7 separate regions of the Homo sapiens genome follow, and regions 1, 2, 3, 4, 5 and 6 are each linked to region 7. The links are contacts of gene promoters, found by promoter capture Hi-C in blood cells and fetal thymus (Javierre and others, 2016). All regions are on one chromosome and are shown on one strand. The core of a region is centred on a gene start or on the middle of the fragment in contact, and the rest is flanking DNA. Distances in the headings are between cores, read along the strand shown.

The links. Contacts are between HindIII fragments. The CHiCAGO score rates a contact against its expected background, and 5 or more counts as called.
Region 1: a fragment that was not itself captured here is called in contact with the fragment with the promoter of TBCK in region 7 in 3 of 17 cell types (total CD8 T cells, total CD4 T cells and naive CD8 T cells); the score reaches 9.5 in total CD8 T cells.
Region 2: a contact is called between a fragment that was not itself captured here and the fragment with the promoter of TBCK in region 7, in 5 of 17 cell types (total CD4 T cells, naive CD8 T cells, fetal thymus and 2 more). The highest score is 11.4, in total CD4 T cells.
Region 3: a fragment that was not itself captured here is called in contact with the fragment with the promoter of TBCK in region 7 in 1 of 17 cell types (total CD8 T cells); the score reaches 5.4 in total CD8 T cells.
Region 4: a contact is called between a fragment that was not itself captured here and the fragment with the promoter of TBCK in region 7, in 1 of 17 cell types (naive B cells). The highest score is 6.3, in naive B cells.
Region 5: a contact is called between a fragment that was not itself captured here and the fragment with the promoter of TBCK in region 7, in 1 of 17 cell types (activated CD4 T cells). The highest score is 5.8, in activated CD4 T cells.
Region 6: the fragment with the promoter of CASP6 here is called in contact with the fragment with the promoter of TBCK in region 7 in 2 of 17 cell types (naive CD8 T cells and naive CD4 T cells); the score reaches 6.3 in naive CD8 T cells.

The regions. Positions count from the first base shown.
Region 1 is chr4:109,817,311-109,820,728 of GRCh38, forward strand. It overlaps GAR1 (GAR1 ribonucleoprotein), which reads left to right. Exons shown (of 7, transcript NM_018983.4): 3 at 626-780; 4 at 1,691-1,750. Among named protein-coding and RNA genes, the nearest start is that of GAR1, 3.3 kb to the left of the region's middle. The HindIII fragment of the contact is 1,478 bases long and covers 554-2,031 here.
Region 2 is chr4:110,193,080-110,196,224 of GRCh38, forward strand. The region is part of intron 1 of ELOVL6 (ELOVL fatty acid elongase 6); the gene reads right to left. Among named protein-coding and RNA genes, the nearest start is that of ELOVL6, 4.0 kb to the right of the region's middle. The HindIII fragment of the contact is 1,138 bases long and covers 746-1,883 here.
Region 3 is chr4:109,426,144-109,429,564 of GRCh38, forward strand. No RefSeq gene overlaps it. Among named protein-coding and RNA genes, the nearest start is that of SEC24B, 6.0 kb to the right of the region's middle. The HindIII fragment of the contact is 2,362 bases long and covers 632-2,993 here.
Region 4 is chr4:109,443,134-109,446,376 of GRCh38, forward strand. All of the region lies in intron 1 of SEC24B (SEC24 homolog B, COPII component), which reads left to right. Among named protein-coding and RNA genes, the nearest start is that of SEC24B-AS1, 11 kb to the left of the region's middle. The HindIII fragment of the contact is 4,493 bases long and covers 1-3,243 here.
Region 5 is chr4:109,650,015-109,653,232 of GRCh38, forward strand. All of the region lies in intron 1 of MCUB (mitochondrial calcium uniporter dominant negative subunit beta), which reads left to right. Among named protein-coding and RNA genes, the nearest start is that of CASP6, 52 kb to the right of the region's middle. The HindIII fragment of the contact is 2,758 bases long and covers 237-2,994 here.
Region 6 is chr4:109,701,931-109,705,093 of GRCh38, forward strand. CASP6 (caspase 6) reads right to left here and starts at 1,515. Exons shown (of 7, transcript NM_001226.4): 1 at 1,426-1,515. The coding sequence starts at 1,465. RefSeq lists enhancers at 117-176, 937-996, 1,887-1,936 and silencers at 1,177-1,286, 1,437-1,726. The HindIII fragment of the contact is 4,197 bases long and covers 1-3,163 here.
Region 7 is chr4:106,314,514-106,317,732 of GRCh38, forward strand. It overlaps TBCK (TBC1 domain containing kinase), which reads right to left and starts at 1,696. Exons shown (of 26, transcript NM_001163435.3): 1 at 1,418-1,696. AIMP1 (aminoacyl tRNA synthetase complex interacting multifunctional protein 1) reads left to right here and starts at 2,037. Exons shown (of 7, transcript NM_001142416.2): 1 at 2,037-2,081. RefSeq lists enhancers at 1,276-1,365, 1,446-1,505, 1,996-2,245. The HindIII fragment of the contact is 5,300 bases long and covers 1-3,219 here.

The sequences.
Region 1 (3,418 bases), core at 43-2,542, 3.5 Mb after region 7:
AGGAATGAAGACTTGGTTTTGCAGGAATGTGGTATTTTAGTTTGGGGTGACAGTCTAGTTAGAAATAAAGGTAGTTATTTTGAGATTCCAGATGTCCTTGAAAACAATGAATCATTGTTAAAGAGGTGGTAGTGGGAATGGAAAAGTTCTAAGGCAAGAGAAAAAAAAAAAGAATGAAGGCTGATTCTGTTAGGCATTGAAGAAAAGGGAGAACCAAGAGAATGAAGCAGAGTTTTGAATCAGATAATAAGTTGTAATAACATAACTGTTACAGGTTGAATGGTGTCAGTGTGCCAGGCACTGTTCTAAGCACTTGACATTTGTTATTCCATTGAGTGCTTACATTACTGTATATTAGGTATAGCTATACATTATATGTTATTAGTGCATACTAAAAATGAGACACTGAATTAGAGAGAGGGTGGGTAACTTCTCCTAGGTCAAATAGCTAGTGTGTTGTGGAGTTGGTATACCAGCCCAGGAAGTCCTAAGACTGTGGTCTTCTGCCTCAGAGGAGAGCAGTTATGGTGAAGTCCCAGGTAGCCAAAAAGAAAGCTTCCAGAAGCAGTTGGTCAGTATCGTTTGAAATAGTTCTATGTTTTAACATTTTCTTGTCCTGTTTCAGTATTAGGAGAGTTCCTGCATCCCTGTGAAGATGACATAGTTTGTAAATGTACCACAGATGAAAATAAGGTGCCTTATTTCAATGCTCCTGTTTACTTAGAAAACAAAGAACAAATTGGAAAAGTGGATGAAATATTTGGACAACTCAGAGATTTTGTATCCTTTTTCATTGGAAGGCCTGATAATATTCAAAGGTTGCTATTTGCATTTTTCTGAGGAGGCAGTTAAGTATAAATTAAAGTTGTTGCTTCATTAAATTAGACAGGATTGCTACAGATTGGACCATGAAGGAGAATCAAGGGGAGAATGTATTCATCCATAGATATTAAAATGACAGACCCTAGAACGGTGACTTTTTTTTTGGAAAATTCTATTAATGATGGCCATTTGGATAAGTACTACAGGATTAAGTTGGCTGATTTGGATGTAGTGGTGCCACTGGAAATGTAGAATTAGAAGTTGTTTGGTGCCCCCACTACTCTGGAAACTCCTTCCTTCCTTTCTCTCTCTCTCTTTTTCTCTTTCTCTCTTTCTTTCTTTCTCTCTCTTTCTCTCTCTCTTTCTTTCTCTCTCTTGCTCTTTCCCTGCCTTCTTCCCTCCCTCCCTTCCTCCCTTCCTTCCTTTCTTTTTTCCTTTTTTTTTTTTTTTTTGACAGAGACTCACTCTGTTGCCCAGGGTGGAGTGCAGTGGCACGATCTCATCTCACTACAACCTCCGCCTCCTGGGTTCGAGCAATTCTCGTGCCTCAGCCTTTCAAGTAGCTGAGATTACAGGTGAGCGCCACCATGCCCGGCTGATTTTTGTATTTTTGGTGGAGGTGGGGTTTCACCATGTTGGCCAGGATGGTCTCAAACTCCTGGCCTCAAGTGATCCATCCGCCTTGGCCCCCCGAAGTGCTGGGTTTGCAGGTGTGAGCCACCACGCCCAGCCCCTGGAAATTCATTTCTTATCTTTCCTATATATATCCATACATTCTAACCTTGTTTTTGAAATTATACATGAATTCAGAACATTTGATATCATCTTTCATCTTAATTGCTCATTTGTTCCTTAATGAAAATAATAGTATTTTTCAGTTAAGTTGTCAGAAAACATGAAGGCTTCATCCTTTAAAAAACTACAGAAGGTGAGTCAAACTTATGATACTTGGGATCCTTGGTTTTATAAGGGAACGACCTATCTTAGGAAAGTCCTACTTGGAGCACTTGAGACTTTCCCAACATATCACTAGTAAAGCTCTTAAATTGAAATGTTCCATGCTATAAATATTGAACACACTAATCTTTAAAAGTGATTTATTTGATACAGCCTTTAGAAAGTAAAAATTACAACTTTTGCTCATATTACCAAAATCTGTAAACTGCTAGAGTAAGAGTTTTTTGTTTATGTAAAACTCTCTTATTGAAAAGCTTTCATGACCAAACATTCTAGGTAGAATCTTAATTTGTAAAACTTACGTTATTTGAGAGGCGGTAGGTACTAAGTGATTTCACAAGAACTTCAATAACATGATATATGCTATGAAGGAAAAATACAGGTTGCCATGAGAAGCTTTGTAGTGCCACCAGCTTTTTAAGTCTGTAGTGTTTCCTGAAAAAGTGAGCTTGAAGCTGAGGCCTGATTGTTGACTAACAGTGATTTCCACACCTGGTTGCATGTCAGAGTTATCTTGGGGAGCTTTTAAGAAGATGTATCTCTAGTTTCCACTTCTGGAAATTTGACCTAGGAGCTCTTAAGTAGCGTCCAGGATTCAATTTTAAAAAGGAAAAGCACTTGGATAATTTTGATGTAGTTAGTCAAACACTTGAGAGCTGCTGAGCTAGTCAAAGAGGAAGAGGAAAGTGCATTCCAAGTAGAGAAAACAGTATGTGCAGTCTCTGAGAGCAGGCAACTGAAAGGATACAAAAAGGCAGACATATAGGTTAGGAATGAAACATTTAGGAGAGGTGGGGAAAGTTGTGAATTAAGACCAGAGAGGTAGGAGGGGGCTTGATTAACTTAAGCCTTCAGGTGACAGGAAAGAGTTTAGACCTTAGTTTCAATTGTGTTTTATTTTTGAATAATGGGATAACACAGTTAAATGAATGCTTCAAAAGAATACTGGGAAGATAAAAAGGCACCTTGGGAAGCGGTCAATATTGTGTGAGAGGGGCCAGATAGGAGGCTATAATAGTAGTTCTAAAAGAGATGGTATTTTGGACTCGGTAGTGACAGTGGAAATGGAAAAAATGGATTTATGAAAGATACAGGAAGTAGAATCAATAGGACTTGGTAATTGACTAGCTATTGAAATTGAAGAAGTAAAAAAATCACCATCTTTCAGATGTCTGACATCAACATCTTTGTGGGTGATGGTACCAATTAATGAAATGGGCAACAATGCAGAGGAGGGGGATTGGGGGAAGATAATGAGTTGGGTTTTGGACATAGTGAGGTTGAGGTACTTGTGAGACAGTCATGGTCAGTTTAAAGGAAGAGTCTAGACTGGAAATAGAATTGGGAATTTGTTAAGTATACAGACAGTACATGAAACATTGTAGGAAGAAAGAATGAAAGGAAAAGAGCACCTATGAAGAGTTTTGGGGCACCTCCTAAAACTAAAGGTCTGGTAGTGGAAACTCAGAAGTAATTGCCAGTTAAAAAAAAAAAGGCAAACCACAAGCCTGTCATAAAAGTGGTATCACAAAAATTGAAAGAGTGTTTCCAGGAGGGACTGCTCAGCTATGGCAAAAGGCTGCAAAGTGTTCATTGGAAGACAGCCACATAGACATCAGGGAGTCATGGAGCCAGTGCA
Region 2 (3,145 bases), core at 65-2,564, 3.9 Mb after region 7:
AGGAAGCAATTCAAAGCAATCCTCACTAAATGAAAAACAACAGCCAAATACTATGTCTGCATTTGAACAGTTTCATTAACATTATGCTGCTATATTTTTTATGCTGCTATATTTGAGTTAAATGCTAACACAGGTTTTTAGTGCTTTTTATGTTCTTTAATCATGAAATTGTACATCGTGTTACTTTCCAAACTTCACCTACAAAAAAGATATAGATGTACAACTCCTTTTAAAATGTTTCACGGCCGGTTGCAGTGGCTCAAGCCTGTTATCTCAGCACTTTCGGAGGCCGAGGTGGGCGGATTACTTGAGGTCAGGAGTTCAAGACCAACCTGACCAACACGGTGAATTCCCATCTCTACTAAAAATACAAAAATTAGCTTGGTGTCATGGCAGGCACCTGTAATCCCAGCTGCTTGGGAGGTTGAGACATAAGAATCACTGGAACCCGGAGGCAGAGGTTGCAGTGAGCCAAGATTGTGCCACTGCACTCCAGCCTGGGCAACAGAGTGAGACCCTGTCTCAAAAATAAAACAAAATAAAATAAAATGTTTCACTCCATTTTTACCTTTGGTAAAAACAAATTTGTGAATAAAAAGGCTTCCTCAGCTGAACAGCATTTAATTCTTAAAATTCCTATACTATCTTATAGACTCTATAATACAGAATACAAAATGTTAAAACAAGTAAACCCTTTTACACCACCAAGGGAGTGAGTGGGGAGAAAAGTCAGAAAAATATATAAAGCTTTGAAAGGCTGGATGTGTGGAGAATGCCAGGAGAGGGGGAGGGTTTCATGAAGTTCTAGGCAAGCCCTTTGAAGACGTCACCTCACATACATAATGTTACAGCAGTCAGCACAGGCCTCCTGCTTTCCTATTGGTGGGCACCGTGTCAGCCGACATCAGAAGATAATCATCATTGGCTAGACAATTACAACTGGAGCAACTAGCATCCACTGCTGTTAGCACAAACCTGGCAGGCTGCTGAAAGAGAAGGCAGAGAGAGCCCAGCTTCCCTTCTCACTCAATGAATTATATGTCGCCTTAGCAATCACCAGGTGATTTTGCTCCCTGGCTAGCAGCACTTCCAACTTAAGTCAGCTCTTAGTGAGAAAAACAGGTAAAGGCCAGACATCTCATAAAAGAGCAAAATGTCTCTATTTTCAATGTTGTAAAATTGCAAGGACTTTTCAGTGAAAATTAGAATTCAAAACTCCTATTTGGACCTATGAGCAGACATTTTTCTCTACCTCATGTAATAAACTCTCATTGACCAGATAATATAACCAGACAGGATATTTTTCACTGGACATGTAGTTTCAAGATGAGGCCCAGGATGATTCTACAAGGGAATACACTTATTACTTTGCATTTCAATTGCTATTCTAACCTATTATATATGAAACTTTTTGCTAGCAAAGTAAAAAAAGTCTGCAGTATTTACTTTCATGGCTAGGCCAATGAGTATGAGGTTAATGATTCATTAAAGCAGCAATAAACTTGAAAACTAGCCTCAGTTGAACCCTTTAGGGTTTATACAAATGCTACTCCAAAAGTCGGGCCCCATTCCATTAACACGTGCTATGGTTAGTAAGTATGGATTATAGGGTATGTTAACATTAATTTGCGCTATGGTTAGTAAGTATGGATTATAGCGTATGTTTAATAAAGTATTCTTATTTTAGGTCCTCTTAAATGATGCTAGTTAGCAAAGGCAGCATACTGGCAAAATACTACTCCTGGCCATTCTCACAGTTCTTCAAAAGCCAATGTAGTTCACTTTTGAGAGAGGATGTTTTAATTCTCTAAATTAACAAGTTTTGCCTGTTACTAAGAAGAGATTTATAAGGACAACCATAAATTCCCAAAAGACAGAGTAGAAGCTTCACTATATCATGTTTTTCCTCCAGAAGCTATTTCAAACCATTTTAAGTTAATGAGTCTGAAAAAGGTAAGATTTTATGGTTTCCTCAAGTTCCTCTCTCCTCAAGAGGGTCTAAGCCTTGGTTATGGAGTTCCCTTCTCCTATTAAAAAGGGAGTGAAAAGAAAATCTGGTTCAAGACTTTTTGTCCTGCATTAGCTGGATTCTATTAAAAATAAAAACTAAAAGCTTTAATTTGAACCTCCCGGGTTCAAGCAATTCTCCTGCCTCAACCTCCCGAGTAGCTGGGATTACAGGCACCCGCCACCACGCTCGGCTAATTTTTTTGTATTTTTAGTAGAGATGGGGTTTCACCATATTGGCCTGGCTGGTCTCGAACTCCTGTCGTCAGGTAATCCACCCACCTCAGCCTCCCAAAGTGCTGGGATTACAGGCAGGAGCCACCACACCCGGCTAATAAAATTAAATTTTAAAAAGTGTTTAAAGTCTTTTTGGCTGTACAGTTTTTGGGGAGGGAGGAGAGATAAAATTGGGCACCCTGGGATATTGGGAGAAATGCACAAAATCTGGCATTTAAAAAAAAACATGAAAGTAAGACAATTAGGGTCAGGAAGAGTTGCAAGGGAGGGGTAACAGCCAGCAGGGTTCTTTGACTGCAATAAGCAATCTAAGAACATAACATCAACAGAGAGCAGAAGCCAGGAAGGGAAAAATCCCAAGATGTGACTCTGCCACGGTATGCAAGTTCTAGCCTGTTAACCTTCGGGTATTAACGAGTAGTGCTGGCAATAAAATGGGCACCAATCACCATTTCAACTCACTGGACATTTTCTCAAGAATGTGCCTTATGCAAAGCACTCTGCTAGGTGCTTTGCAGAATCAAGAGTGGGATGACAAGAACCGTAACCTGAAGAGCTGATGGTCTGTAAGTTAATAACCATGTATATAACAGTAAAGGATATTGCCAGAAGAAAGGTACAGATAAAGAACTAGGAGGAAACAGTGGTCAGAACCTAACAGGAGTAGATACGTTGGCACATTTTTGTCATTTTCAGTCCCACGAGGGCTGAGACCTGTCTGGCTCAGTACTGAGTGAATGGAGAGAAGAGGCGGGAAATGGTACCTGAAGCAGGCCTAGGAAGTGGCCTCAGAGAAAAAGCAACAAGTAAATAAGAGGCAGTATCGACTGCAGTGGGCTAGGAATGGCGGGCGTACAGTGAATGGGGTCAGCCAGCAAAGCGAGGGAAAGCGGACTCCGGA
Region 3 (3,421 bases), core at 563-3,062, 3.1 Mb after region 7:
ACATTCTCTACTTTGTTTTATGTATATATAATAAAGTATATAATATACATATAAAACAAAGGTGTATATATAAAGCCAGATATATATATCTGACTCATTGCAGCCTCAACCACCTGGGCTCAAGCAATCCTCCCACCTCAGCTTCCTGAGCAGCTAGGACTACAAGGCTGTGTCACCATGCCGGGCTAATTTCTAATTATTTTGTAGAGATAGGGTATCTCTATGCACCCAGGCTGATCTCAAACTCCCGTCTCAAACGATCCTCCTGCTTTGGCCTCCCAAAGTCCTGGGATTATAGGCATGAGCCACCACACCTGCCCCTTCTACTCTGTTGTATTTAGAAGGAGAGAATCTTATGGGAGAAATTCCTGTTTTAACTTGTTTTAATCTATTACATAGAAACTGTCTACAGGACTATACTAGATTTCTACTTTTCGTTAGTGAAGAAGAAAGTTGTTATACGGAAAAATCTTTTAATTTTTTCATTTTTTTGAGACAGACTCTCACTCTGTCGCTGTGCTAGAGTGCAGTGGCACGATCTCTCCCTATGTTTTCTCCTATTAGTTTTATAGTTTCAGGTTTTTAAGTCTTTAGTCCATTTTGAGTTGATTTTTGTATATGGTGTACCACAAGCTTTGTAAACACCCTGCCATCATAGTGGTGCTCTGACTTATCAATATTCTTTTTTAAAAGTGTGTCCTTTCTAACTGAATTAGTATGTTCAACAATTTTATTTATTTATTTATTTATTTTTGAGACAGAGTCTCACTCTGCTGCCCAGGCTGGAGTGTGTAAGTGGCACAATTATGGCTCACTGCAGGCTTGACCTCCTAGGCCCAAGTGGTCCTCCTGCCTCAGCCTCCTGAGTAGCTAGGACCACAGGCACACGCCACCACACCTGGCTAATTTTTTAACTTTTTGTACAGACAAGGTCTCACTCTGTTGCCCAGGTTGGTCTCAAATTCCTGGGCTTAAGTGATCCTCCCACCTTGGCCTCCAAAACTGTTGGGATTACAGGTGTGAGCCACTGTGTCTGCCCCAACAACATTTTTTGTCTAGCTTTTTCTCTTTTAAAGAAACAGTTGTGTTTTACATTTTTCAGGTAATTGAAGTTTATCCTTTCAACTAGTAAAAAAAGTTTTAAAACCAATCCTTTGTAACACAGAAATACCCCTTCGTATGATCTTTTAACTTAGTTTTATACATAAAAATAAATCTAGGCTGGGCATGGTGGCTCACACCTGTAATCCCAGCACTTTGGGAGGCCAAGGCTGGAGGATTACTTGAGAGACCAACCTGGGCAACACAGCAAGACTTCACCTCTACTAAAAATTTTAAAAAATTAGCCCGGTGTGGTGGTGCACTCCTGTAATCCCAGCTGCTTGGGAGGCTAATGCAGGAGGGTCACTTGAGCCTAGGAGGTCAAGGCTGCAGTGAGCTGTAATTGCACCACTGCATTCTAGCCTGGGCAACAGAGTGAGACCCTGTCTCAAATGAATGAACGAATACATAAATCTACCTTCTAGAACCATAGTATAGTAACTTTGTCTCCTTCCAGCAGATGGCACTGAAGATTGTGCACAGTAATTTAGTAATTTTAGTCTAGGGCAGTGCTTCCCAGCCTCTTCATGTTATAACATAGCTAGAAAATAAGGATATTTTTGTTGGGTAAAAGACAAGGATGCTTGCAGCCAAAGGAGACTAGCCTGAGGATCACTTGAGTACCCCCTAGTTGTCCCAATGTCTGAAGAGGATTAATATCTTAATACATCTTTTAATGAATTGCACTCATTCAGTGTGCCCTGGTGTAGTGGTGCCCTGATGTAGGTCATCTTTTTATTAATTTGGGGCCTATTATGAGTTTATGTTTTAAAATGTGCTTTATAAATATTAATCCCAACATTGATGTCAGTGAGAAAGCAGTGAGAATTTTGAAGGTGGTAGTAAGAGTGATGTGAAGATTAAAAAAGCAGAGATTGAAAAATGAAAATTCATAGTAATAAATATACAATAAAGTGGTATGACCCAGTTGAAATTGGGAACAATTCTGAAAAGCAAAGAGTGACTCATGCCATATGAAAATGCCATTTGCTATGGACTGAATTCTGTACCTCCAAAATCCATATGTTGAAGCCCTAACCCCACATGTAACTATATTGAAGAGAGGGCCTTTAAGGAGGTGATTAAGGTTAAATGCAGTCGTAAAGGCAGAGCCTTGTCCAATAGAACTGGTGCCCTTATACCGAGACACCAGACAACTTTCTCTCTCCCCATCTCTGCCTGCCATGTATGGACCAGTGAGAAGGTGGCCATCTACAAGCCAGGAGGAGAACCTTTACCAGAACCTGATCATGCTGGCACTCTCATCTCAGACTTCCAGCTTCCAGAATTGTGGGAAAACACATTTCTGTTGTTTAAGCCACCTCGTTTAAGGTATTTTGTTATGGTGGCCAAAGCAGACTAATTCACCATTTTTATATAACAATAATCAGTAAGAAGAAAAGTAATTGACAAAATGTACACACTGTTGACCATGTGATGAGAGGATCAGTGTCAACTCTGGGCACCCATTAACCCATTAGGAGATGGTTCAAGTATCTTAAAGGCCTAAGAAAGTAAAGTTATGGAAAGCAAGAGCGCTAGGCACATTTTAATCTGTACAACATCAACATGAGTGGTAGCAGGTGTGAATATACGCCAGCTGCTAAGAAGTTCCTTTAGGCTCATTAAGGAGGGGCATTTCCTTCCTTAAGGGACTTCAAATGTAAATCCAACAAAAAATGCCCTTTGGAACCTTGCTACTCAAAGTGTGGTCCATGGATCAGCAGCATCAGCATCAGCATCACCTGGGAGCTTGCTAGAAATGCAGATTCTCAGGTCATTCTAACCCTACCCAATAAGCATCTTCATTTTAACGTGATCATCAAGAGATTCATATGCGCCTTAGTCTGGGTTGCACCACTATACAACTTATATCAGTAAAAAGAAGAGTAAGCTTTGTTCTAAAGTTTCAAAGGACTGCCTCACTTTTCTGTTTTCTGGAAATGCATATGTGGCTTACTCCGAACTTGTGAGTATTGGGACTTACGAACAATGGAAATTTTGGAACCTAACCTGTTCATATGTAAGAGTTTCTAAAGTTCCAAAATGGGTTCTGTATTCCTCTGGTCTTCTGAAACAGAGTACAGAACATAATTTAATTTTTCTTTGCAATTGAGGACCAAATCTATGAATATCTGTTTTGGTCCTGATATATGGTGATGTCATAAAGCGCTTTCAAGTTATAAAGCAGGTGTTCGGTATGTGACAGTTCCCTTCACTTTATTTCCTTCAGAATACTAGGTTATAAATTTCTCAGATGGCAGAGACTTGTGGACTATGTTTATCATATTTCCAGTGGAATACATAGGGTTGTTCAATG
Region 4 (3,243 bases), core at 110-2,609, 3.1 Mb after region 7:
CTCCCTTTCCAATGGTGACCTTACTTATTTTACTAAGAAATTGAAAGCAATCTGACAATCTGAAGATAAAGTATTAATCTTCTGCCACCAAATCTGTCAGTCTTCCTGCATATTATTCTTGTGTTATCTGAGACAAATTCAGATTATTTGGGTACAGAATTCTGTTCCCTCTCTTTTAAGAACTTTGTCCCTCCGATTATCTCATTTACCATCAATTTTGATCTTAAACACCTGAACCTTATTTTATGCAATGCATATGTAATCCTAACAGTTATATATAACTTTTATTTTAGAGACGAGATCTCACTGTGTTGCCTGGGATGGTCTCAAACTCCTAGGCTCAAGTGACCCTCCAACCTCTGCCTCCCAGAGTGCTGGGATTACAGGCATGAACCACCATGCCTGGCCTATAAATTTAATTTACAATTCCTAGCAAATATTTATGTAGCTCCTCTTTACATAACATTTTGTGCTAGATACTCTGGGCATACAAATGTGAATGTTCTCTGCACTCCAGGAGTTCTGTACCCCTCAGTAAAAGAGGAGAGGACTGTCAGCACTGAACATGTGTTTCCTTCATAAGGCCTGTGAGAAGGGTGCCCAGAGTTTTGAAGAGGAAACAATTCTTTTTGGTTAAAGTAATAGGGAATCTTAAGGGAGGAAGTTAGAACTTCAGCTATATCTAAAATGATGGACACATTTTGAATTGTCAGGTAAAAATGCATGAATCAAAGGTAAGGAATTTAAAAAACGTACTCTGAGCAGTGCAGGGGTACAAGGGAGAGAGAGTAATGAAAGAATGGTTTGGGCCCGGTGTGGTGGCTCATGCCTGTAATCCCAGCACTTTGGGAGGCTGAGGTGGGTGGATCACCTGAGGTCAGGAGTTCGAGACCAGCCTGGCCAACGTGGTAAAAACCCATCTCTACTAAAAATACAAAACTAGCTGGGTGTAGTGGCGAGTGCATGTAATCCCAGCTATTTGGGAGGCTGTGGCTGGAGAATTGTTGGAACCCGGGAGGTGGAGGTTGCAGTGAACCGTGATCATGCCATCGCCTGGGCAACAAGAGCTAAACTCCATCTCAAAAAAAAAAAAAAAAAAGAATAGTTTTTACAATTATGTTGGGGCTGCTAATGGAAGTTCCTAGAAATTGTCCTAAGAAGTTTAGACTTCATTTGGATCAAAGAAGAGCCATTAAAGATTGTGTGGTAAGGAATGTTAAAAAGTACTCTGGTGGTGTTAGTAATGAATTAGAGGGAAGTGAAAGTAGAATAAAGGGAAGTCAGGTAGAGAATTTTTCAAACCAAATCGTATTTCATATGCCCTAAAGAGATCCTGTGATTTTTTTTTTTTTTTTTTTTTGGTACAGGGACTAGACTTGCATGAAATATTTGTTTTATAAATTTTAATTTTCATGTTAGGTTTTCTTAAAGCAAGAGAATCAGTTTTCCTTTGGTGAGAATCTGGTGTCTGAAAGGAGGTTATGCTACTGAGACAGATATGTCCTGGGGGTAGATCTTGTGATAATTTAGTCCTGCTAAGGAGGGCATACATGCTTATAGAAAATCATAGGCTGTATCTTGCTGGCACATGATATATCAGTCAGGCTGACCAGCTGAGCAGCTCCATTGAAAATATTATAGACCATTTGTTAAAAATATTTTATTTCTTCATTCAGATTGGTACCAGTGAGTAGATAATGTGTCAGAATCATCTGTTTCCCTCTTTTATTTGACATAGTTCACTTGAAGCTAAGAATATAAAATTCTTTCAGAGATTATATAAAAACTGAATTTTTTTGTTTTGTTTGTTTTTGTTTTGACACAGGGTCTCACTCTGTCACCCAAGCTGGAGCGATCACTGCTCACTGCAACCTCGATCTCCTGGGGTCAGGTGATCCTCCCACCTCAGCCTCTTGAGTAGCTGGGACTACAGGTGTGCGCCACTACACCTATCTAATTTTATGTAATTTTTGTAGAGATGGAGTTTCACTCTGTTGTCCAGGCTGGTCTTGAACTCCTGGACTCAAGCAGTCTGCTGCCTCAGCCTCCCAAAGTGCTGGGATTACAAGCACGTCTGGCCATTTTTTTAGTTTTTTCTTTCTTTCTTTGTTTTTTTTTTTTTTTTTTTGAGACGGAGTCTTGTTCTGTCGCCCAGACTGGAGTGCAGTGGTGCAATCTCGGCTCACTGCAAGCTCCGCCTCCCAGCTTCACACCATTCTCCTGCCTCAGCCTCCCAAGCAGCTGGGACAACAGGCGCCCGCCACCACGCCCAGCTAATTTTTTTTTTTTTTTTTTGGATTTTTAGTAGAGATGGTGTTTCACTGTGTTAGCCAGGATGGTCTCGATCTGACCTCGTGATCCGCCCGTCTCAGCCTCCCAAAGTGCTGGGATTACAGGCGTGAGCCACGGCACCCAGCCTGTTATTTTTATTATTTTATTTTATTTATTTTTTTGAGACAGGGTCTCACTCTGTCACCCAGGCTGGAGTGCAGTGGTGCAATCTTGGCTCACTGCGGCCTCAATCTCCTGGGCTGAAGCAAGCCTAGCACCTCAGCCTCCCAAGTTACTGGGACTACAGGCACAAACCACCACACCTGCGTAATTTTTTATTTCATGTTTGTAGAGATGAAGTCTTACTATGTTGCCTGGGCTGGTCTCAAACTCCTGGACTCAAGCAATCCCCCTGCCTCAGCCTCCCAAAGTGCTGGGATCACAGGTGTGAGCCACCGCACCCAGCCTGTTTTAGTTTTTCAGTGATTATTTGATGCTTATGTAAGGCATTGTATTGGGCAATTTGGGGAGTGCAATAATCAAATTAATTTATTCTAAGATGCTTTTTTTTTTTTTTTTTACATTTTTTACCTCTGAAATTGGGGTGCATTTTAGAATCAGTGGAATTCTAAACTTGCTTTCCATAAAGTGAAATCATAATATAGTTGTGTGAGAATCTGCCATTGATACCTGATGTGGTAGGCTGAATAATGGGTTCCCCAGCTATGTCCATGTCCTAATCCCTGAAACCTTTGCAGCAGTGATTAAGTTAAGGATCTTGAGATGGGGTTTTCCTGGAACTTGGTAGGCCTGATACAATCACAGCAGTTCTTATTAGAGAGACACAGGACAAGTCAGAGCCAGCAGCGAAGGAAATGTGAAGACAGAAGCAGAAGTTAGAGTGATGTGCTTTGGAGATGGAAGGGGCCACAAGCCAAGGAATACCAGTGGCCACTAGAAGCTGGAAAAGGC
Region 5 (3,218 bases), core at 366-2,865, 3.3 Mb after region 7:
ATTTGGTTCATACCATTTGTTTATTCAAAACTATCATATCCCCCTATCAAGGGGGGAATGGTAGGCTCCTCAAGATGGGTTTGAGGTGAGGTGTAAACTAAAAGGAAGACCTGAGTTTTGGTGAGTCATTCTTGAAATTCAGCTCTGCATGCATGATGGGTTTGTGTAAGATTTTCAGAATTTTAATAATAACCCTCTAAAAAGGGTTGTTACAGGGTATGGTAGTTTCTCTTTTAAGCTTTACTAACATGTCTGAGGATTGTCAATATTCTTGGGGTTTCTAAATAAAAACTTGTACAGGAGTGTCTTTGCTTTAAAAAATTTTTTATTTTCAATTTCCCAAGTAACCATAGTTTCCTACTGGCATGCAAAAAAGGTTTAATATTTGACCCCTTGTTATTAATCACTTATCTTTGTATATGGTAATTTTGGTGTTGTAAACCTATTGTTTTTGAATTATTAATTTTTTTTACCCTGGCCTACCAGTCTCTCAGAATTGTGTGATTTTGAAACAGTCTCAAACATAACATAAAGAAAGTTGTAACCACAGTGGGAAGACTATTTTGTTTCTGAACTATTTGAGAATACATTGCAAACTTGATGCCAGTTCCCCTGAAACATAAGAACATTCTCCAACTTAATGACAAACAACCATCAAAATAGGAAAATTAATGTTAGTACATAACCACCATCTAATTTTTAGACCTCATTAAAATCTTGCCAATTTTTCCAATAATGTTCTTTATTGGCAGAAGTTCAGAATCACAGTTTAATTTAGTTGTCATGTCTCCTCCACTCTGGATCAGTACAACATTCTTTGACATTCATGATTTGACTCTTTTAAAGATTACAATTATTTTGTAGAATGCCTCTGTTTGGGTTTGTCTGGTATTTCCTTGTGATTTGCTTCAGATTATATAGCATCTTTGTCGGGAATATCTCAAAAGTGTCCCATGTATTCTCATTGCATGATTTCAACTCACCCCATTACTGATAATATTAATTTTGATCAATTAAGATGGTATCTGTCAGGCTTCTTCCCTTTGAAGTTATTATTTTTCCTTTGGGATTAATGCTTTTGTGTGAAGGCATTTTAAAACTGTGTAAATATCTCATTCCTTATTAAACTTTAAATTTATTCAGTTAATTATGTCAGAATACACTCATGGTTTCCTATCTCCTTCAGTGGATTATAATTTGTTACTATCATTATTTAATGCTAAAAATTGTTCCAGATTTTACCACAGGGACACCCTTTGACCTGCCTTCTGGGTTCTTTTGATAAGTCTTCCATCATCCATTGAGCACTTCCTTGCTTTCTAGTACAGCAAGATGCTCTAGGTTCATTTTGTCCTTATCCATGCCCAGCCCTAGAATAGCCATTTCTCCAAGGAGGCTTGCTTCCTCTTAGGTAAGCATAGTATCTGGTGCCAAGAGCTAGATGCTAGATGTTATTAGAAGTGCCACTGCTCATAGGCTCTCTCAGAAAGAGAATATACATATACATATATATGTCAGTATGAAAACATAAATATGTAAAATTTAAAATTTCTATACTTACATACACACGTACATTAAACATTTGCATCTTTTAAAAATTTTATATTTAATTTCATTTAATTATATTTCTTTACATTATTACACATTAAAAACCATGAATTCACACCAGTACTTCAGTCTAACACTACAGGGTTTATTCTACTCCCTTTCCATAATTGTAGTTCCATTCTTGCACAGGATAAATCTGACTTCCATTATTCTTGATATATTTTTTTCTTCTGCATGTGACAGTCTTTCATCTCCACTACCACTCCTTCCCCTGCAGAGATGGCTTTCTTACCCCAACTGGGCTCCAACATTTTTTTCTGAGCCTATTTCCCATGTGGAGGCCGTCTTCATCCCATTTGGGCTATGACACCCACACTAATTGCGCCTCCACTGTTTAGAAACCTTCCTCGCCACCCTTCTGTAGGCCAAAAGTTAAAGTTCAAGGTGTTGGCTCAGTTGGTTTCTTCTGAAGCCTTCTTGGCTTGTACATGGCTGTTTTGTAAATGGCTGTCTTCTCCCTGTGTCCTCACACCGTCTTTCTTCTGGGTGTACATGTCTGTCCAAATCACCACTTCTTGTAAAGACACCAGTTATGTCGGATTAGGGCCTATACTAATGACCTCATTTTAACTTAACCTCTTTAAAGTACAGTCACATTCTGAGGTACTAGGGGTTAAGACTTCAATATATGAATTTGCAGGGGGTGGGGCACAGTTCAGCTCATAATAGTGTTCTATTCAGCTTCCACTTGAGTTTAGTTCTCTTCTTCCTGAAGAAGTTCTTTAGCAAAAATCTGTGGAAATAAGCCATAATCTTGATTATACCTGAAAAACTCATTTCTTTCAGCCTTGCTGTAATCTCTTTTGTGCTGCTGTAACAGAACCATAGACTGGGTAATTAATAATGAACAGAAATGTATTTAGTTCACAGTTCTGGAGGCTGGAAAATCCAAGATTGAGAGGTCGCATCTGGTCAGGTTCTTCTTGCTGCATTATCCCATGGCAGAAGGTGAAAGGGCAAGAGGCGGAGAGAGAAAGCTCAATCAAACCCGCAGCCTCAGGCCCTTTTATAATTGGCATCAATCCATTTATGAAGGTGGAGCCCTCATGACCTAAGCACCTCCCATTAGATCCCACCTCCCAGCACCGTTGCATTGGGCATTAGGTTTCCAACACATGGACTCTGGGGGACACAATCAAATCACAGCAAGCCTGAAGTAATTTTCCTGAGCATAATATTCTAGGTTGGTAATTATTTTCCTTAGCATCTTGAAAACATTCCTGCATTTATTTAACGTGTATTTACTGAGCCCCTATTATGTTTCAGGCGCCATTCTAGGTGCTGGGGATACAGCAGTGAACCAGACCAAGTCCCTGCCTGCTCCTGGGGAGTATGCACTCTAGTGGGAGGAAATGAAATGGCATTTGTACAAATTGTATGAACATAAGCTTTCATTTCTCTAGGGTAAAGAGCTAGGGGTGGGATTACTGGGTCACATATAAATGTATATTTAACTTTATAAAGAACGGTCAGGCTGGGTGTGGTGGCTCACGCCTGTAATCCCAGCACTTTGGGAGGCTGAGGCGGGCGGATCGCGAGGTTAGGAGTTCAAGACCAGCCTGACCAACCTGGTAGAAACCCCGTCTCTACTAAAAATACACAAAAAATTA
Region 6 (3,163 bases), core at 265-2,764, 3.4 Mb after region 7:
TCTAAACTTTGTTCAACTTCCCAAACGACTTCGGTCATTCTACTGTCATCGTCTTCATTCACTGCACTCTCTATGAAAATCTACCCATCGGCTCCATCAACAATGTATTTAGTAACCCTATGTAGAGTAACCTCCATCAGGCCTAGAACATGCACTGGGGAGTGCGGTGGAGGAAGAAGAGGAAGGGAGCAGGTGAGTGAAGGAAAGCCCCGGCTTCCCGCCCCTAGAGACTGCAACTGGACCCTGCACTGTGCCTCCAGGACAAGGCTACCTATCTACCTCCTCTACGACCATGTGACTTTTACAGCTTGCCTCTGGAGCACCATTTCCTTTGTGCAGCAAAATATAAAGAGTTCTTAAACAAAGGCACTCTAACCAACTGCAGGCGTTTCGTTCTTTTTTTTTTTTTTTCTTCTTGATTCGAAGTCTCACTCTGTCGCCGAGGTTGGAGTGCAGTGGGGCGATCTCGGCTCACTGCAACCTCCACCTCCAGGGTTCAAACGATTCTCTTGTCTCAGCCTCCCCAGTAGCTTGCGCCCAGGCCTGGCTAATTTTTTTGTATTTTTAGTAGAGACGGGGTTTCACCGTGTTAGTTAGGCTGGTCGAGAACTCCCGACCTCTGGTGATCCGCCCGCCTCGGCCTCCCAAAGTGTTGGGATTACAAGGCGTGAGCCACCACGGCCGGCCAACTGCAGGCGTTTCGACCTTTTTGTTTGTTTCACTCTGGCCAGGCTTGAAGTTTCTAAACTTTACCAGTAATAAGTGACAGAACGTACGCTCTTAGCAGTTGATTACTTTGCAGAAAAAAGTTATTGTGGTTTTGGCTCAAACCGACAGACAGCAGCAGGTTTCCTGGATGAAGAAGAGAGATACCGGGGTGTGCTGGCCGCCAGGAACTGGCCGCCTCCAGCTGAAGCCCGGGAGGACCCAGGGTCTTGGCCCGGGCACCCCGCGGGCCTGTTATGTTTTCATTATGACTCGGCGGAACAACCCCTCCTTTTCACTTTTCGAAGTGAGCAAACAAAAGATCCAACCCCCAACATTTCAAACGGCCAGGTGTGGGGGAACGCCAGGCCCGCGTGGGGACAGCCTTTTAAGGTTTAAACAGCCGGGGCGCCCCGAAAGCGCTCATCGCCCCGGAGGACAAAGGCGGCAGGGGCACGCCCCGGCGCCGGCGTCGCTACTCGGGACCGCCAGGAGGCGGCAGCCAGGTCCCCGAGTGTTTCTTAGACTGAAGCGCGAAACCGTCCCCACCCGCCCTGAGCGCTTCAATCCAAGAGTGCAACTTCTCCAGGCCGCCCTGCAAAGCCGAAGGAACCCGCGGCCCCACTCCGGTCCGCGCGCCCGGTCCACTAACCCTCGTTTCCCCTCCAGCCGGAGCAAGACGCAGACCTGCTCGGTGCCCAGTCGACGCCCCCTGCCTACCTGCCGGGTGCCCCCTGCGGAGCCCCGAGGCCGAGCTCATTGCAGCCAAACGCGCAGCCAGACACCTTGCCCTCCTCTTCCTGAAGCCACAGGCTCCCGGGCCCGGCCCCGCCCTCGGCCCTTCCTCGGCGGCCCCGCCCCCTGCCCCCGAGCGTGGGGCCAGTTGGTTCTGATTGCGCGCCGCCCGGGCTCCCGTGGATCGGGCTGGTCCTTCCCAGAGTTAAAGCTCCTCCCAGTCGCTCCGGAGCCCGCGGGGACCAAGAGCGCGGGGGCAGGGAGAGGTACGCGGTCTTCGCCTCCAGGCCCGCTGGGACTAACCGTGCCCTGGGGACATGCCAGTTGCCACCCGGGGGGACACACAGACCGCCTAGCCCGAGGCAATTTCACATCACTTGTGTGAGCTCGGACTCATTTAATCCCAGCTGCCCCAAACATTTGCTATTCCTTACTTTGCTATGCCTGTACTTTCTAGAGGTACAGGCATAGATTGTTTTATACCGCTTAGCAGATACTGCCTGTATTTCAACATTGGCTCGCTTTGTGTCTCTGTGTCACATTTTGGTACTCTCGCAATATTTCAAAATTTTTCATTGTTATTATGTCTGCTGTTGTGATCTGTGATCAGTAATCTTTAATATTATTGCAATTGTTTTGGGGCACCATGAACCGCGCTCATAAAGGAAGGGGAAATTAATCCATAAGCCCTGTATGTGTTTGGACTGTTCCACCGAACTTTCCCTTCTCTCTCCCCCTCCTGGGGCCTCCCTATTCCTGGAAACACAATTTTGAAATTAGGCCAACTAATAATCCTACAAAGGCCTCTAAGTGTCCAAATGAAAGGAAGAGCCTGTCACTTTAAATCAAAAGCAAACATGATTAAGTTAGTGAGGAAGTAATGTTGGTAGGCAGAAAGCTAGGCTTCTTGCTCCAGTTAGCCAAGTTGTGAGTGCAAAGGAGAAAAGCCAAGTCATGAATGCAAAGGAAAAAATTTTGAAGGAAATTAAAAATGCTACTCCAGTAAACACACAAAAGACAATAAAGCTAAACAGCCTTATTGCTGATATGGAGAAAGTTCTAGTTGGTCTGGATAGAAGATAAAAACAGCCACAACATTCCCTTAAGCCAAAGCCTAATCCAGAGCAAGGCCCTAACTCTTCAATTCTATGGAGGCTGAGAGAGGTGAGGGAATTGCAAAAGAAAAGCTGGAAGCTAGCAGAGAGGATGGTTCCTGAGGTTTAAGGAAAGAAACTATCTTCATGACATAAAAGTGCAAGGTGAAGCAGCAGGTGCTAACGTAGAAGCTGCATCAGGTTATCCAGATCTAGCTAAAATCATTGATAAAGGCAGCTACACTAAACAACAATCTTTTGTTTTTGAGACAGTCTTGCTTTGTCACCAAGGCTGGAGTACAGTGGTGCGATCTTTTGCAACCTCTGCCTCCTGGGTTCAAACGATTCTTCTGCCTCAGCCTCCCAAGTAACTGGGATTACAGGATGTGCCACCATGTCCAGGTTAATTTTGTATTTTTAGTAGAGACAGAGTTTCACCATGTTTGGCCAGGCTGGTCTTGAACTCCTGACCTTGAGCAATCTGCCCGCCTCGGTCTCCCAAAGTGCTGGGATTACAGGTGTGAGCCACCGTGCCCAGCCAAAACAACAGATCTTAAATGTATATGAAACGGCCTTCTATTGGAAGAAGATTCCATCTAAGACTTTCATAGCTAGAGAGAAGTCAATGC
Region 7 (3,219 bases), core at 446-2,945:
TAGAAAAGGTTAAAAGTGGTTATCTTTGAAGAACAGTACTGAGAGTAGGACAGGTGAGACAGTTGCACTTTATTATTCAATCCTACTACGCTATACTACTTGATTTTTTTTTTTTTTTTTTTTTTTTTTGAGACAGAGTCTCACTCTGTCATCAAGGCTGGAGTGCAGTGGCATGATCTCGGCTCACTGCATCCTTCCACCTCCCGGGTTCAAGCGATTCTGTGCCTCAGCCTCCAGAGTGGCTGGGATTACAGGCGCCCGCCACCACGCCCGGCTAATTTTTGTATTTTTAGTAGAGACGGGGTTTCACCATCCTGGCCAGGCTGGTCTTGAACTCCTGACCTCAGGTGATCCACCCGCCTCGACCTCCCAAAGTGCTAGGACTACAGGCGTGAGCCACCGCGCCCGACCATTTTATTTTCAATCAGATGTCTTTATCATCACATAGCTGAAAATAAAATAACCAAATAAAACACAATGATCGAAAAAGATAAAACACTAATTAGCATAATCAGTGTTCTTTTTCCACTACCTCTTAAATGGTTGTACATAAAAAGGCTCACACACAAAAATACACACACATACATTCACTTACACCTCGTGAGTGGAAGAAAACTACCGGGGGAAAAAAAACGTAGAGATGAGAGATTAGATGAGGGAAACAGCAGTGCAAGCAGTTGGGCTTGAAAATTCATTCATTCAACAAATATTTTGAAGCCCCTATTTTAAGTCAGTTGTTTTTCCAGCTGGTGGGCAAAGGATAATGAACAAGTCAGACTCTGTGCCCTCAAAGAACTTAGAGTTTTAAACGACTCGAATGGGGAAAGAAAGTAAAAAATAGGGCAAAAGACGCCGATTTTATCATGAATAAAATTTCACATTTCTTCAACAGGAAAATGATACTAATTCATTTATTTTATATATACATTCTCTCAAGAGGTTATTTTTGTCTCAAATAGATAGAAACCAGGACAGGGATCCTTGAAAAGCAGCCACTGACAATCCTCAAGTAACTTCCTTCCTCTGCTTCACTTTCTCCTACTGCTCAAGGGGGTGTTACACTTTGACGACTGACTAAACCTCGAGGGCCAGAAACAAACCAAAGCAAAATTCTGCCTCCAAGGTGAGTAATGGAGGGGCGGATTCTAGATTCTCTAACCTCCTTTAGCCTTCCTTTGAGGCAGTGACAGAGCGATTACTAAGCCTACGGTTCCCAAACGACTCAGGTGAACCTGATTTACAGGAAAGGCGGGCTGTAGCTAGGGATGGAGACAGTACCTATCAGCAAGCGGCTCCACAGCTCGGTTCTCTATCTATTCTGAAGACATGCGGGGCCACTCACTGCTCCTGATAGTCCTCTACCTCCCACAGACCCCACCCACTACGACACGGAAAACTGGATTACCCAAATACCTGCCTCTGAGTCTGGGGACGCAGGCAAGCACAAAGACAAGGGGGATGGAGCTTCTACACAGGGCCCCAGCGCTGTCGCTGTGGCTGCTGCTGCCGCTACGGCTTAGTGCACCAGACGCTGCATTTCAGGTGCTCCTACAAAAGAGGCCACTCCTGGAACGCCGGGAGCTCAGACGCTGCCCTTTGCTCGCGAGCCAAGTCAGCCAAGGTTAACCTTCGCGGAACCCGGCGAGGAGCGCAAGCCTGGCCTTCCCCAAACACAGATCCGAGCTTTTCACCCTCTACCCTCCCCTCAGCCTGGCCTTTTCTTCCGCCCTCACAGCCACCGCGACCCAACGCTGAGGAAAGACCCCGACTTGTGGTGTCCTTCCCCTTGCCCAAACTGGCCACGAAAGGACATATAGCGAGAGAGAAAGAGGTGCGGGGGGACGGGGGGGGTCGATTGAAAATACTGGGTGAGGGAATGGAAGACGAGGAGCGTGGTATGGCAGGTTAATGGGACTGAGCACAGGAAGAGGAAGAAAGAATTGAGGGTTGAATCTGTAGAACACTCAGGCTTTCAGCAAGGACACCTCATTGGGTCCTTTCTCACTGCTATAGTACGCGGGTGGCTGGACCTACATGCTTCCTGCTGTGGCTGTCTCGGAACCCGTGGTCCTCCGCTTCATGTGAGTGACGTCGTGGCGGGTCACTCACTCGGGGATCGCCGATTGCGATCGTAGGGGTCTTCCTTCTCTAACTTGCCTCCAGGAGAGAGGACCTGGCCTGCGCTGCTAATGGGTAGTCCGTTCGCAGCAGGACCAGCCCTGGCCTAAGGAAACAGGAAAGAGTTTGAGACTTCCTTCTAAAGGAGCCACGTTTGAGAAATGGGATGCAGGCCTAAGTTAAGAATGCTACAGAAAAATATCGATCCCTAAGCGTATTTACTGTTATGTGAATGTGTGTGTCAAAGGACTTAGGTGCTTTGGGGGAGAGGAGGGTGAAGACAGGAATTTATTCATTGAGCGAATAGTTATTAAGCGCCCACTCTATTCCAGACACCGTTCTAGGCATTAGGTGAACAGCAGTGAACAAAACAGACGGAAATCTGTGTCTACTTGTAGCTCACATTTTAGAGAGGAAGGCACATACTAAGCAAAGTAATTAGAAACATACTGTATTTTAGGTCGTGATAGTCCTGAAGAGAAACGTAAAGCAGGGAAGAAGGGTATAAAGTGACACAGGAAGGTCTTGCTGAAAAGATGACTTTTAAGTAAAGGGCTGACAGAAGTGGGAGATTTAACCACGCGAATATCTTGGGAAAGTGCAGTCAGACAGAGGGACCAGCCATTGCAGAGGTCATGAAGCAGAAACGTGCTAGAATAGCAAGGAGGCCTGTAGGGCAGAGTTGAGTGAAGGGTTTAGTCCTTCACTGGAGATTAAATCAAGGCGAGCAGGTCATGAAGATCTTGAGGACATCTAACTTTTATTCTAAATGAAATAGGACTTTGGAGCGTTTTGAGCAGTAGAGTGATGGGCTCTGACTTCCTTTTAAGAGGGTCACTCTTTAAGGAAAATACACAGAGGAGGACGTGGTAGGAGAAAGGAGACCAATAAGAAGAGTTTTGCAATAATCCAGAGGAAGCATAATGGTGGTTTGACTATGGGTGGTAAGAAATGGCCAGTTATATTCTTGATGCACTTAATTTGGATATGTAAGAGTATTATAGATGACAGGGTTAATTTTATTTAATTAGGCTTTGGAGGACACTTGAAAAATGAATTCCAGTGTGAGTTTCAGAGTGGCAAACACAAGTTAAAATCATG